Regions from separate parts of the Homo sapiens genome. Here regions 1, 2, 3 and 5 are each linked to region 4. Evidence: promoter capture Hi-C in human tissues and cell types (Jung and others, 2019). All regions are on one chromosome and are shown on one strand. Each heading gives the region's core, a stretch centred on a gene start or on the middle of the fragment in contact. The rest is flanking DNA. Distances are from core to core; before and after follow the strand shown.

Region 1 (2,700 bases), core at 172-2,671, 280 kb after region 4:
AAAAAAAATTAGCTAGGTGTGGTGGCATGTACCTATAGTCCCAGCTGCTCGGGAGGCTGAGGCAGAAGGATCACTTGAGCCCAGGAGGTTGAAGCTTCAGTGAGCCATGTTTGTGCCACTGCACTCCAGCGTGGGTGACAGAGCAAGACCCTGACTAAAAACAACAACAAAATACTGAAAGAGGAGGGTGAAAGTCTCTAACTGTAAGAAATTGTTTTACCTTTCATTTCTGTTAGTTTTTGCTTCATGTGTTTTGAAATTCTATTGTTAGGTGAATACACAATTTGGATTGTTTTGCCTTCTTTTATTATTGAGTAATGTCTCTCATTATCCCTGTTGATATTTGTTTTGAATATACATTGCCTGATATTAACACAACTACTCCATCTTTCTTTTGATTAGGGTTTCTGTGATATATTTTCCCCATCCTTTTACTTGTTTGTTCTGAGATGCAGTCTGGCTCTGCTGCCCAGGCTAGAGTGCAGTGGTGTGATCTTGGCTCACTGCAACCTCCCCATCCTGGGTTCAAGTGATTCTCCTGCCTCAGCCTCCTGAGTAGCTGGGATTACAGGTGCACGCCACCATGCCCGACTAATTTTTGTATTTTTAGTAGAGATGGGGTTTCACCATGTTGACCAGGCTGGTCTTGAACTCCTGACCTCAAGTGATCTGCCTGCCTCAGCCTCCCAAAGTGCTGGGATTACAGGAATGAGCCATCACTCCCGGCCTGTTGATTGTCTTTTTGTATTAGGTCATTCTTGCACTGCTATAAAGAAATACCTGAGACGGGGTCATTTATAAAGAAAGGCTTATTGGTTCGTGGTTCAGCAGGCTGTACAGGAAGCACAGCGGCATCTGCTTCTGGAGAGGCCCCAGGAGGCTTCCAATCATGGTCAAAGGCAAAGCAGGAGGAGGGACATCACATGGCAAAGGCAGGAGCAAGTGGGGGGATGGGGGAGGTGCCACACACTTGTAAATGACCAGATCTCGTGTGAACTCAGAGAGACAGCTCACTTATCACCAAGGGATGGCCCAAGCTCCCATGACCCAAACACCTCCCACCAGGCCCCACCTCCAACACTGGAGATTACAATTCAACATGAGATTTGGGTGAGGACAAATATCCAAACTATATCATTCCACCCGGGACCCCTCCCAAATCTCACGTCCTTCCTACATTGCAAAATACTATCATGCCTTCCCAAGAATCCCCCAAAATCTTAACTGATTCCAGCGTTAACTCAAAAGTCCAAAGTCTCCCCCGAGACAAGGCATGTCCCTTCCACCAATGAGACTGTAAAACAAAATACAAGTAATTTACTTCCAAGACACAATAGGAATATAGGCACTGGGTAAGTACTGTCATTCCAAAAGGAAGAAATCAGCCAAATGAAAGGGACTACAGGTCCCATGGAAGTTCCAAACCCAGCAGGGCAGGTGTTAAATCTGAAAGCTCCAAAACAATCTCCTTTGACTCCATGCTCCACATCCAGGGCACACTGGTGCCAGGGGTGGGCTCCCAAGGCCTTGGGCAGCTCCGCCCTCGGGGCTTTGCAGGTTCCATCCCTAACGCTGCTCTCACAGGTTGTTGAGTGCTTGTGAAACCGCAGGGTGCAAGCTGCTGATGACTTTGCCGTTCTGAATTCTGGAGGGCAGTGGCCCCTTCTCGCAACTCCACTAGGCAGTGCCCCAGCGGGGACTCTGTGTGGGGGCTCCAACTCTCTCAATTAGTCAGATGGGATTTTGGGGATTTGTGGACATTGCTCCTTGGCACTGCCCTAGTAAAGGTTCTCTGTGGGGGCTCTGCCCCCCGCAGCAGGCATCTGCCTGGGAACTTGGGCTTTCTCATACATCCTCTGAAATCGAGACAGAGGCTGCCAAGCCTTCACTCTTGCATTCTGCGCACCCACAGGCTTAATGCCATGTGAAAGCTGTCAAGGCTTACAGCTTGCAACCTCCAAAGTGGCAGCCTGAGCTGTACCTGGGCCCCTGTGAGCTGAGGCTGGAGCTGGAGCTGCTGGGATGCCATATGGGGAGCACTGCCCTGAGGCTGTATAGGGAAGTGGGGCCCTGGGCCTGGCCCACAAAACCATTTCGTTCCCCTAGGCCTCAGGGCCTGTGATGGGAGGGGCTGTCATGAAGGTCATCATTCCATTGGCTTGGTCATCACCTCTCGGCTCATTTTCAAACACGCAAATATCTCTAAGAAGTGGTTCCTCCACACTCTGCTTGAATTCCTCTCCTGAAAAAGCTTTTCCTTTCTCTGCCACATGGCCAGGCTGCGCATTTTCCAAACTTTTTTTTTTTTTTTGCGTGGCGGACAAAGTCTCATTCTGTCGCCAGACTGGAGTGCAGTGGTGTGATCTTGGTTCACTGCAACCTCCGCCTCCCAGGTTCAAGTGATTTTCCTGCCTCAGCCTCCCGAGTAGCTGGGATTACAGGTGCCCTCCACCACACCCGGCTCATTTTTGTAGTTTTAGTAGATGTGGGATATGATGAGGTTTCTCTTCAAATAGCCTGATCAATCCTTTCTTCCTTAATTCATAGTACCTCCCCCACCCCTTTTTCCTTTTTCTCTTTTCTGCCTTTGTTAGATGCCTGGACACGCCACAGGACCAGGCTTATCAGTACCAGCTCACATTCCTTTCCTTATTTGGAAAGGAGACTAGTCTCTAGCTCATTGCAAACGCTCCTTCCCCT
Region 2 (2,700 bases), core at 70-2,569, 310 kb before region 4:
TGTTGCTCAGGCTGGAGTGCAGTACTGCCATCATGGCTCAATGCAGCCTCAATTGCAGCCCTCTTGGGCTCAAGCAATCCTCCTGCCTCAGCCTCCCAAGTGTCTGGGACTACAGGCGTGCACCACCATGTCTGACTTTTATATGTGTGTGTGTGTGTGTGTGTGTGTGTGTGTGTGTATTTGTGTATATATATGTGTGTATATATATGTGTGTGTATATATATATGTGTGTGTGTATATATACATATATATGTATGTATGTGTATATACATATATAGTGTGTGTGGAGACAGATCTCGCCATGTTACCCAGGCTTGTCTGGAACTCCTGGGCTCACACAGTTCACTCGCCTCAGCCTACCAAAATTCTGGGATTACAAGCATAAGCCACCATGCTCAGCCTAAATCTTTTTAGTTGGACTTCCTGAAGTTTGATTTTTTTTTTTTTTTTTAATTTTGAGACGGAGTTTTACTCTGTCACCCAGGCTGGAGTGCAGTGGCATGATCTCCACTCACTTCAACCTCCGCCTTCCGGGTTCAAGTGATTCTCCTGCCTCAGCCTCCTGAATAGCGGGGATTACAGGTGCCGCCACCACGCCTGGCTAATTTTTGTAATTTTAGTAGAGACAGGGTTTCACCATGTTGGTCAGGCTGGTCTCAAACTCCTGACCTCGTGATCCACCCGCCTCAGCCTCACAAAGTGTTGGGATTATAGGCGTGAGCCACTGCGCCCGGCCTGATTTTTTTTTAATTGTTTAATTGTTTAATTTTTTTTTTTATACAGGGAGGGTCTCTGTGTGGCCCACGCTGGTCTCAAACTCCTGGCCTCAAGTGATCCTACTGCCTTGGCCTCCTAAAGTACTAGAATTACCAGCATAAGCCATTGTGCTTGGCAAAAGTTTGTTTTTTGTTTGTTTGTTTGTTTGTTTTGTTTTGTTTTGAAACAAGGTCTCGCTCCTGAGCGAGATCCTCTTACCTCTTTCTCCCAAGTAGCTGGGACTATCGGTGTATGCCACTGAGCCTGGCTAGTTTTGTTTTTTTTGTATGTGACATTTTTAGTGTAAGCACATACACACACGCATGCATGCACGCACATTCATACTATCCCCCTTCTTTGTTTCTTTGTACGTATAATATGTGCACTTTTTCCACCTAACACTGTCTTGTGGAGATCACCGGATGGCTAGCCTCCTATTTAGATAACCTGCCTGGGAGGCAGGCTGGGGTGCCCTGCAGCTGCTTTCAGAGTTTGCTGATCAGAGTCTGAAACTGCAGGCTATGCATGGGTAACAGCTGGTGTACAGGCTTGCTAGTGGCCCCTGCACAAATGTGTGTCTTTCTTGGCTGTATTTATACGGATTTTCAGTGACATTTTTGGTATCTTTGTATAGCAATAGATGTAGTGTTTCATGAGGCCTTTGCCATGGTTCTTTTAAAAAGAGACACTAGATGGCAGTAGAGACCCCGCCAGTGAAGTCTCAACCCTTAGGTCACTGTGCTGTACTCAGGATGCTGCTTTTCGAAGCACACAGTATTCAGATTCAGTTTTTTTAAAGGGTCTCTTTCATGGAGAGCTCAACGGTTCTATTAAAAGTATAATTGAGGCCAGCCGTGGTGGCTCACATCTATAATCCCAGCACTTTGTAGGGGCAAGGCAGATCACTTGAGGCCAGGAGTTCAAGACTAGCCTGGCTGACATGGCAAAACCCCGTTTCTACTAAAAATACACACACAAAAATTTGCTTATGCAGCTTATGCTGCCACATGTCATTAAACAACTCCTTTTCCTTAGCTTTTTCTCTGAGTTTGTGATTTAACCTACGTTCTGGAGGTATTAATGACCTCCATATGGGTAATACCCAGCAAACGTAAACTTCTTTGTGGTTTGCCAGATTTTCACTAATTTACAAGGATATGCCCAGTTACTGTAACTCAATTTGAGATTACCTTTACCTTTCCTATTCTTATGGCTGGGGTTTCTGCATAGAATGATACCTTTGAATGACCCGCAAGCTACATTTAAGTGAACATTAATGATTTCGGTAAGCTTGGTCCACTCTGGGAAGTGATGTGCTGTGGTTGGTTTCAGTTGCATGGGAGCCAGTCGAAGCTACAACTCATCGACTGCCCTGTGCCAGATGAAAGGAGGTGGTTGATTTTTGAACACCTTTTCCCTTCCTTAGGGTTGGTGAGCTCATCGCTCTCTGTGGAGTTCATAGTGTCCCTGTAACTGAGTATCTTAGCTGTGAAGCCAAGCATTGTCTCTGCAGGAGTGGCACACAGATTTTCCAAGGCTGTTTTGTGGGAATGGATGTTACCTTACAGTTTGAGTCTTGCCTAATTTAGCCAAACCTGTTTGGAGTGAAGCTACTTATCCAAGGAAGTTTGAAAGTAACTTAATTCCCTGATGAAGGAACTTTTAAAACAGGCAGAGTGTGTAGACCTTGCCTTGCCTTAGTCCTGAGTGCTCCTGATGCAGAGCTGTGCAGCACACATCAGCTGGGCCCTGCATGCCACATGTTTTGCAGCCCTGGTAAAAGGTGCAGCACAACCCGAGAAGGAGAGAAGCCGGGAGGCGTGTCGCATGTGTTTTATCTGTGGCTATAGTTCTCCTTTCTGACAAGGAGGCCCCCAGCACTCCTTGTGACCTAGAGCTGGAAGTGGAAGGGCTTGGGGTGCTGCTTCCTGAGCCCTCTGCTCT
Region 3 (2,700 bases), core at 168-2,667, 280 kb before region 4:
TCTCGGCTCACTACAACCTCCGCCTCCCAGGTTCAAGCAATCCTGCCTCAGCCTCCCAAGTAGCTGGGATTACAGGCACCTGCCACCATGCCTGGCTAATTTTTTTGTATTTTTAGTAGCGACAGGGTTTCGCCATGTTGGCCAGGCTGGTCTCAAACTCCTGACCTCAGGTCATCCACCCGCCTTGGCCTCCCAGAGTGCTGGGATTAAGGTGTGAGCCACCGCTTCCAGCCTTACTGTGTTTTAAAATCTCTATTTTCTTCTCCTTCAGCCATGAGGAAATAGTCTGACGGGCATAAGCCCACGGGTGGGCTGGCCCAGGGCCACTGGGGATTTTGTACTTCCATGCCATGTCTCTCCCAGGCCCCCAGCTGTGGGCATGGGAGGCTGGCCCTGGGCCCTTCAGAGCTGAGCGGGGAGCGAGAGCTGTTGTGTTTGGGTGGCCAAGCCCTTGGTAGCACTGACCTGATTCACTGTGCGATGCTCTCACGGCATCCATTCTCTCATGTTTAGAGAACACCTGTGAATTGCCAGGCCCTGGAGTTCATGGAGAATGGAGAAGGGCTCCCTGCATCGGGGAGACTGCTGCAGCAGGGGAGGTGGGCCACCCCAGCGGAACGGGTAGAGAAGCTTGGAGTGCCCTGGTGGGTCGAGTCCTGAGAGGGGAGAGAAGGTGTCAATTGGCAGAGCAGCTCTGGGGGTGTCTGGAGGAGATTGTTCAGACAGAGGCAGCAGCCTGTTCCCCACACAGAGAGTGATAAGCAGGGTGGCCTGCTGGGGTAGAGGTGGGAGGGGCCCTTGGAAGCTGAATCTATGGTTGGAAGTGAGATGAGGGCTTCTGAAAGGTGCTGAAGGGAGATGGCTGTGCCGGGGCTGTGAGACGATCACTCTGGCTGCTGGGCTCGGAGCTGGAAAAGGAGACTAGGGTAGAGAGTAGAGATGGCTGTGCAGTAGTGAGGGGGTTGAGTGTGTGGTGTGATCGAGAGAAGAGGCAGGCAGACTCCAGGGTGTCCAGGCCAGGCTGGAAGGCTGGGGATCTGTCGGCGATGTGCTAGTGCAGAGGCACCACCCGGGGTGAGCGCATTGCTTGGGAGAGGCACATGGTACAGATGGTGTTGGGGTGGTGCTTGAGGCCTGGTGAGAGGCCGAGTTGTCCATCCTGGAGGGGATGGCTGAGGAGAACCCCACCTTGGGGGAATGAGGTGGAGAGCACTGGGAGGCAGGAGCTGGGGAGGAGGGGCAGGAGCATAGCGCCCTGGAAGGCAGGCAAGAAAGGAGCTCCCTGGTGAGTCAGGAGAGGAGGCTTTGCCTTCAGCAGCTCAGGGGTGTTGGGAGCTTTGATGAGCCTGGCTGAGTAGTAGATAAGCGGCTGCCGAGAGTGAGCTCACAGAGGAGAATGGGGGGTGAGCTCACAGAGGAGAATGGGGGGTGAGCTCACATCAGCAAGCTGCATGACTCTTTCGGGGGGTTTCACTGCCAGGGAGAGCAAAGGACAGTCACCAGTATGGGAAGTGGGATTGAGAAGTTTTCTTGTTTGGGTTTTTATTAACGTAAGGGAAATACTGACATGGGCATGTACTGCTTCCTGGTGTCCAGCAAAGGAGCTAATTGGCACACAGAGAGGAAGGGGCATGGTCCGTGTGTCAGGGACAGCTTTGGGGCATCTGGAGACAGGTCAGTACAATGAGGATGGGAGGCAGAGGTGGGTGGAGCTGGCAGGAGCGATGGGATGCAGGTTTGGGGATCAGCTTGCTCACAGGAAGCCACAGGGTCAGCTGAAGGGGGAGGCTGGAGTGGAGACCACCTTTTAGACCAGGAACTTGTGAAGGGGGTGTTGTCCAGGTAGGAGGGAGAGGCTGGCAGCAGGAGGGTCTCAAATCTAAAGATCCACATGCATCAGACAGCTCGAAGTCTATTTATTTTTGAGATGGAGTCTCGCTCTGTCACCTAGGGTGATGTGCAATGGCACGATCTTGGCTCACTGCAATCTCCGCCTCCCTGGTTCAAGCAGTTCTCCTGCCACAGCTTCCCAGGTACTTGGGATTACAGGCGCCCACCACCACGCCCAGCTAATTTCTTTTTTGTATTTTTAGTAGAGAGGGGTTTTGCCATGTTGGCCAGGCTGGTCTCAAACTCTTGACCTTAAGTAATCCACCTGCCTTGCCTCCCAAAGTGCTAGAACTACAGGCGTGAGCCACCACGCTAAACAGTAATGCATGCAGTCTATGCTGTGTGCACCTGTGGCCCCAGGTACTCAGTAGGCTGAGGCAGGAGGATCGCTTGAGCCCAGGAGTTCGAGGCTGCAGTGAGCTTTGATTGCACCACTACACTCCTGCCTGGGCAACATAGTGAGACCCTGTCTCTAAATAAATAAATATGGAACATTTTAAATATGAAATGAAATGTATGTTTATTATGAAAAAATTAAATATTGTAGATTGGTAAGAAGAAAATGGACGCCCCCTAGCACCCTTTGTGATATGGATAGGCTTTGTGTCCACACCCACACCTCATCTTGACTCACAATCCCCAGGTGTCAAGGAGAGATGAGGTGGAGATAATTGAATCATGGGGGTGGTTCCCCCATCCTGTTCTCAGTGATAGTGAGTGCATTCTCACAAGATGTGTTAGATTTATAAGGGGCTCTTCCCCCTTTGCTCGGCACTTCTCTTTCCTGCCACCTTGTGAAGAAGGTGCCTT
Region 4 (2,700 bases), core at 59-2,558:
GTGGCTCATGCCTGTAATACCAGCACTTTGGGAGGCCGAGGTGGGCGGATCACCTGAGGTCGGGAGTTTGAGGCAAGCCTGGCCACCATGGTGAAACCTGGTCTCTACTAAAAATACAAAAATTAGCCGGGTGTGGTGGCGGGAGCCTGTAATTCCAGCTACTTGGGAGGCTGAGGCATGAGAATAGCTTGAACCTGGGAGGTGGAGGTTGCAGTGAGCCAAGATCACACCACTGCATATACAGCCTGGGCGACAGAGCAAGACTCTGACTGAAGAAAAAAAAAAAAAAGAACGCAGGCATTTGTTATTTTGCCTGCGTATTTAATTAGTCTTTACCCAGGCATTTCCTCCTGTTCTCCTGAAGGTGGGGCACAGCCTTACTTGGTGGCTGCACTGCCAGTGCCTGAGGAACGGGCCTCTGTTCTAAGACACCTGGTCCTGCAGGTGCTGCAGACACGGCCTCCTTTCCTCCGCCGTCCTCCCCCAGCAGCCTGGAATCACTTGCTGCTTCCCAGCCATTCGGTCTACGCGCTCATTCATTAGACTCAGAGTGAGCAGCTAGGTGCCAGGAATCCACAGATCTATCGGGACCCTTCTCTGTTCTCTCCTCTCCCCGGTCTCCATTTCTACCCGAGGAATTCTCATTTGTCCTTCAAGCTCCAGCCTAGAAGCCACCTCCTTCTGGAAGCCCTCCCGGGTTTCCCTGTTCATGTAAGCCTCCACCTCTCCTGTCCCCTCCAGGAATGTCCCTTGCTCTTTTCGTGTGAAAAGGTGAAGTTCAACATTGCCACTGATCTGGGCGCAGTTCGGCAGGGCACCGCCTCCCCTTGGAGCTGTGTGGCCTTAGCGGAGTGGCCGAGCCTCTCTGTGCCCAGCGTTTCATTCCTACCTCCTAGGTGCTAATTCCTCACAACAGACTATTTTTCGGCTGAGGCAGTCAGGGCCCCCGCCCCCGTGCCCTGGCGCCAAGCACTCGCCCCAGAATCGGTCCTGGGAATAAAGGTCAAAAAGGAACCCTTAAACCCGCTCCTCCCCGGAAGGCACAGCGCCTCCCCTTCTCTCCAGCCCGCGACTGCCCATCCAAACCGAGGCCTCGCGGGGCGAGTCCCTTGTCCTCCAGCTCGTTGAACTGGGGCCCCGGGCACAGGTCGGCTGGACCAGCTTGGCGAACCGGACAGCTGCGAGACCCTCAGGTGCCCACCGGCCCAGTTTCCGCCCGCCCCTCCGGGCCCGCCTCTCATTGGCTCGCGTCCCACCAAACCCTACCCCCTGGCCGTCACTTCCGGGCAACGGAGCCCGTGGAAGGCGGAAGTGTGAGCGCCGCGGCGGCAGCTGAGTTGGGCTGAGGTGTCCCTAGCTGGCTCTGCGGCTCTTCCGGGTCTGGGCTCGGAGATTCACAGGCGGCCCGCGAGGCCGAGCGAGGGACGCATGGCCCTGAGGCGGCCGCAGGGCTTGGCGGGGTCCGGAGGTTGACCTCGCCCCCGCAGCCGGCCTTCGAGGCTGCCTCCTCCAGGCAGCCTCTGGGGCCCGCGCCCGCGCCTGCTCAGGCTCCCGTGTTCAGGCTGCCCATCCCCTCCCCACCGGCGTCCCGGACGTTGGGACCTGTGACCGTGGCCTCGGGCTGGGCTTCCAAAGCCGGCCGCAGCCCGGCGACCCCCGAGGCCTCTCGCCCCGGGCCCCTAGACCTCTCACTATGACCGCGGCCGCCGCCTCCAACTGGGGGCTGATCACGAACATCGTGAACAGCATCGTAGGGGTCAGTGTCCTCACCATGCCCTTCTGCTTCAAACAGGTGAGTCCGGTGGGCCCGGAGATCACCGCCCTCGCCTCCCCCGCAGAGGGGGCGTCTGGCTGGGTCGTCCTGGTTAAAGTTCCCGCCGGGGCAGGGCTTCGCTGGGCGGGTGCAGGCGGCCGCGGGCGGGGCGACCCTCTGGGTCCCGGCGCAGTTCCCGTAGAGAATCCGTGGATGAGAAGCGCACGGCGTTGGCCCTGGCAGCCCTTGTCAGCCCGGGCCGGAAAGTTCCCCACACTCAAAAACTCGATACCGAAGCAAAGTGTAACAAAGCAAAATGATCCTCCAGAATCGGAAGGGAACGGTGGGACTCCGTATTTTTACATTTTATCGTGTTTTTAAAAACTCTGACCCAACTGCACCTGTCTTCAGAAGCACACAACTCACCACTCCCAGGCTTCGACACTAGATAGGGACCTTGGTTGCAAGGTGATTAAAAACATCCACCAGGTTATACACCTAAGATCTGCGTTTCACAAAAACCGCACATTTGGCAGGGGGTGGTGGCTCACACCTGTAATCCCAGCACTTTGGGAGGCCGAGGCGAGTGGATCACCTGAGGTCAGGAGTTCGAGAACTGCCTGACCAACATGCTGAAACCCCATCTCTACTGAAAATACAAAAATTAGCCGGGGGTGGTGGCACATGCCTGTAATCCCAGATACTTGGGAGGCTGAGACAGGAGAATAGCTTGAACCTGGGAGGCGAAGGTTTCAATGAGCCGAAGGTTGCAGTGAGCCGAGATCACGCCATTGCACTCCAGCCTGGGCGACAGAGGGAGACTCCGTCTCAAAAACAAAAACAAAAAACTGCACATTTGATCTAATGTGTGCAGACGTTACCACAGTTGGAAAAAATCTCAAATACAAAAAGTTTAGCGTCATTCCAGCATTGAATAACACATGAAA
Region 5 (2,700 bases), core at 88-2,587, 340 kb before region 4:
TGTGCGCCTGTAGTCCCAGCTACCCGGGAGGCTGAGGCAGGAGAATCACTGGAACCCAGGAGGTGAAGGTTGCAGTGAGCCGAGATCGCGCCACTGCACTCCAGTGTGGGTGACAGAGTGAGATTCGGACTCAAAAACAAAAAAAAACAAAAAACAAAAAACTCTGATCCCTGAATTCTCAAGGACACTAATTTTTTTTGAGTAGTAATAAAACCTCAGTAACCTGTACAAGCTGGCTCTGTGTGAATTAAACTCTTTATTGCAATTCCCCTGTCTTGATAAAGTCTAGGCAGTGGGCAGGGACAATATGTTGGGTAGTTACAGTGGCACCCTGAGCAAACTAATACAATTACTAACATAATTTAATCAATTAATGTAATTTAACATAGTTTAAAAAAACTGTCACAGTAATTGTGATGTTGTGAAATATGTATACATTTAGTCTTCCGGTTTCCTGGTATCCAACTCCAAAAATCCTTAGAATCTGTGAAGTGACGTCTTTTTTTTTTTTTTTTGAGATGAAGTCTCACTCTGTCGCCCAGACTGGAGTGCAGTGGCACCAACTCAGTTCATTCTAACCTCCGCCTCTTCGCTTCAAGAGATTCTCCGGCCTCAGACTCCCGAGTAGCTGGGATTACAGGTGCCCGCCACCACGCCCAGTTAATTTTTGTATTTTTAGTAGAGACGGGGTTTCACCACGTTGGTCAGGCTGGTCTTGAACTCCTGACCTCAGGTGATCCACCTGCCTCGGCCTCCCAAAGTGCTGGGATTACAGGCGTGAGCCACCGCGTATGGCCTAATTTTGTATTTTGAGTAGAGACGGGGTTTCACCATTTTGGCCAGGCTGGTCTCGAACTTTTGACCTCAGGTGATCCGTCCACCTTGGCTTCCCAAAATGCTGGGATTACAGGTATGAGCCACCGCGCCCGGCCTGAAATGCAGTTTAAACTCGTTTGTTTTTCTTATGTTAAATTTAAAAAATACTTAAAAAAAAAAACATGAAGGTGTGATCCTGCCTTCCTGAAATTGTTTCTCTACTTACCTGTGCATGGAGAGAAGTTTGGAATGCTGTTTCCCCAATTATAATACGCTATAATACGCAGCAGTAGTTATTTTTGGGTGAGACTTCGGATGCTCGTCTTTGCTTCCTTTTTGGACTTTCCTGTGCCGCTTGGGTTTCCGAGGACGAGCAGAAGTAATCTCAGACGCAACTTTCCAAAATCCCCTCCTCCAGTTGCAGGGATGGCGGGGGCGGGTCAGCGGCGCCGCCCTGCGCATGCGTCGAGCCGTTGGTGGGGCCGGAACCTGGTTTCCCGGCCTCGCGCCCGAGGGGAGCGTATTGAGCGAGGCACCGGGACGTCGGCGGCTGGCGGAGCCGGGCGGGCGAAGCTGGAGCGGCGGTGGCGGCGGCGTAGGGAGGCCGGGGCCGGGGCTGAGGCCGCGGCCGGGTCTGCGAGGCCCTTGGGGCGGCAGGCGGCGGCGGCCCGGGGCTCGAGCCCGGAGGCAGGAGCAGCCGCCATGGCCGAGAGCATCGTGAGTGCGGCGGCCGGGCGGGAGCGGGGACGCCGGGATGAGGCAGCAGATTTGCCGGCCTCGGCCTGTGGGGGAGGCGGGCCTGCCGGCGCCGCGACTCGGCCCCTTTCTCTTCTCTCGCCAGGGCTTTCTCTGTAGTGGCTGGGCCCCTCTCGGGGACTTTCACCCCCCTCGGCTGCTTCCCGTCCGTGTCCCTCCCCAGGGGACTTACGACCCCGGTTCCCCGCCCTGGGCAGGGAAAGGCCGAGCCTTTCTAAGCAGGGAGAATGGACTGTGGCGAAGAGAAACCGCCCTCCTTCCCCACCCGTTTCCCGGCTCCAGGAGACTTCCTGGTCTAATTCCAGGGACTCCCAGCCAGTCCTGCCCCTCTCAGAGCCAGGGACACCTCTTATCCTAATCTCCCTCTGATTCTCTCCTCCTGCTCTCCCGCTTCCCAGCAAGTGCCTTGTCATGAGTCACTAAGGAGAGCAGCTCTGCAGACGGGGACGTTACAGAGCTCCCTCCCCACCAGAAGACCTGGGAAAATGAAAACACAGTAACTTGCCGGCTTTGCTCCTTACTTGGAAGGACAACTTGACAATTCCTCTTTAAAAGGAATGTTGTAAATGATGTTGATTTCACTTTTTACCTGAAATTGAAATTGTCGGCCCGGCGCAGTGGCTCACGCCTGTGATGTCAGCACTTTGGGAGGCCGAGGCGGGTGGATCACCTGGGGTCAGGAGTTCGAGACCATCCTGGCCAACATGGCAAAATCTTGTCTCTACTAAAAATACAAAAAATTAGCCGGGCGTCATGGCGCACTGTAATCCCAGATACTTGGGAGGCTGAGGCAGGAGAATTGCTTGAACGCGGGAGGTGGAGGTTACAGTGAGCTGAGATCCCTCCATGGCACTCCAGCCTGGGCTATAGAGCGAGACTGCGTCTCAAAAAAAAAAAAAAAATTGTCACACACTCCTCCTTAACGTAAAAAATATCAGTGACAAATCAGAAAACCAGTCCCTCGTTAAGTTGTGAGAAGTTTCTTCCCAAAAGTAAATGTGATGGGAAAAAAACTAACTGACCATTGGACAGGAGCATTTTGGTTAATATTAAGGAAGATTTGGGATTTCTGGGGGAAGCTTAGCAGTATTGGGTGAAGAGTAATGTTCATACTGTAGCATTGTGACA

What was found. Contacts are between HindIII fragments. The study calls those that stand out against the background at their distance.
Region 1: a fragment that was not itself captured here is called in contact with the fragment with the promoter of SLC38A10 in region 4 in 1 of the 25 tissues and cell types used here (dorsolateral prefrontal cortex).
Region 2: a fragment that was not itself captured here is called in contact with the fragment with the promoter of SLC38A10 in region 4 in 2 of the 25 tissues and cell types used here (dorsolateral prefrontal cortex and liver).
Region 3: a fragment that was not itself captured here is called in contact with the fragment with the promoter of SLC38A10 in region 4 in 3 of the 25 tissues and cell types used here (IMR-90 fibroblasts, dorsolateral prefrontal cortex and liver).
Region 5: the fragment with the promoter of NPLOC4 here is called in contact with the fragment with the promoter of SLC38A10 in region 4 in 6 of the 25 tissues and cell types used here (bladder, dorsolateral prefrontal cortex, liver and 3 more).

Annotation. Positions count from the first base shown.
Region 1 is chr17:81,012,109-81,014,808 of GRCh38, reverse strand. It overlaps LOC124904077 (translation initiation factor IF-2-like), which reads right to left. Exons shown (of 1, transcript XM_047437254.1): 1 at 792-2,700. Among named protein-coding and RNA genes, the nearest start is that of BAIAP2-DT, 21 kb to the left of the region's middle. The HindIII fragment of the contact is 3,807 bases long and covers 1-2,700 here.
Region 2 is chr17:81,600,459-81,603,158 of GRCh38, reverse strand. All of the region lies in intron 8 of NPLOC4 (NPL4 homolog, ubiquitin recognition factor), which reads left to right. Among named protein-coding and RNA genes, the nearest start is that of NPLOC4, 35 kb to the left of the region's middle. RefSeq lists an enhancer at 1,574-1,733. The HindIII fragment of the contact is 4,537 bases long and covers 1-2,700 here.
Region 3 is chr17:81,578,602-81,581,301 of GRCh38, reverse strand. All of the region lies in intron 12 of NPLOC4 (NPL4 homolog, ubiquitin recognition factor), which reads left to right. Among named protein-coding and RNA genes, the nearest start is that of FAAP100, 28 kb to the right of the region's middle. The HindIII fragment of the contact is 4,699 bases long and covers 1-2,700 here.
Region 4 is chr17:81,293,915-81,296,614 of GRCh38, reverse strand. It overlaps SLC38A10 (solute carrier family 38 member 10), which reads left to right and starts at 1,308. Exons shown (of 16, transcript NM_001037984.3): 1 at 1,308-1,792. The coding sequence starts at 1,694. RefSeq lists an enhancer at 643-732 and silencers at 1,393-1,662, 1,763-1,832. The HindIII fragment of the contact is 25,998 bases long and covers 1-2,700 here.
Region 5 is chr17:81,635,749-81,638,448 of GRCh38, reverse strand. NPLOC4 (NPL4 homolog, ubiquitin recognition factor) reads left to right here and starts at 1,337. Exons shown (of 17, transcript NM_017921.4): 1 at 1,337-1,533. The coding sequence starts at 1,519. It overlaps TSPAN10 (tetraspanin 10), which reads right to left and starts at 1,253. Exons shown (of 4, transcript NM_001290212.2): 1 at 1,043-1,253. RefSeq lists a silencer at 1,398-1,607. The HindIII fragment of the contact is 41,196 bases long and covers 1-2,700 here.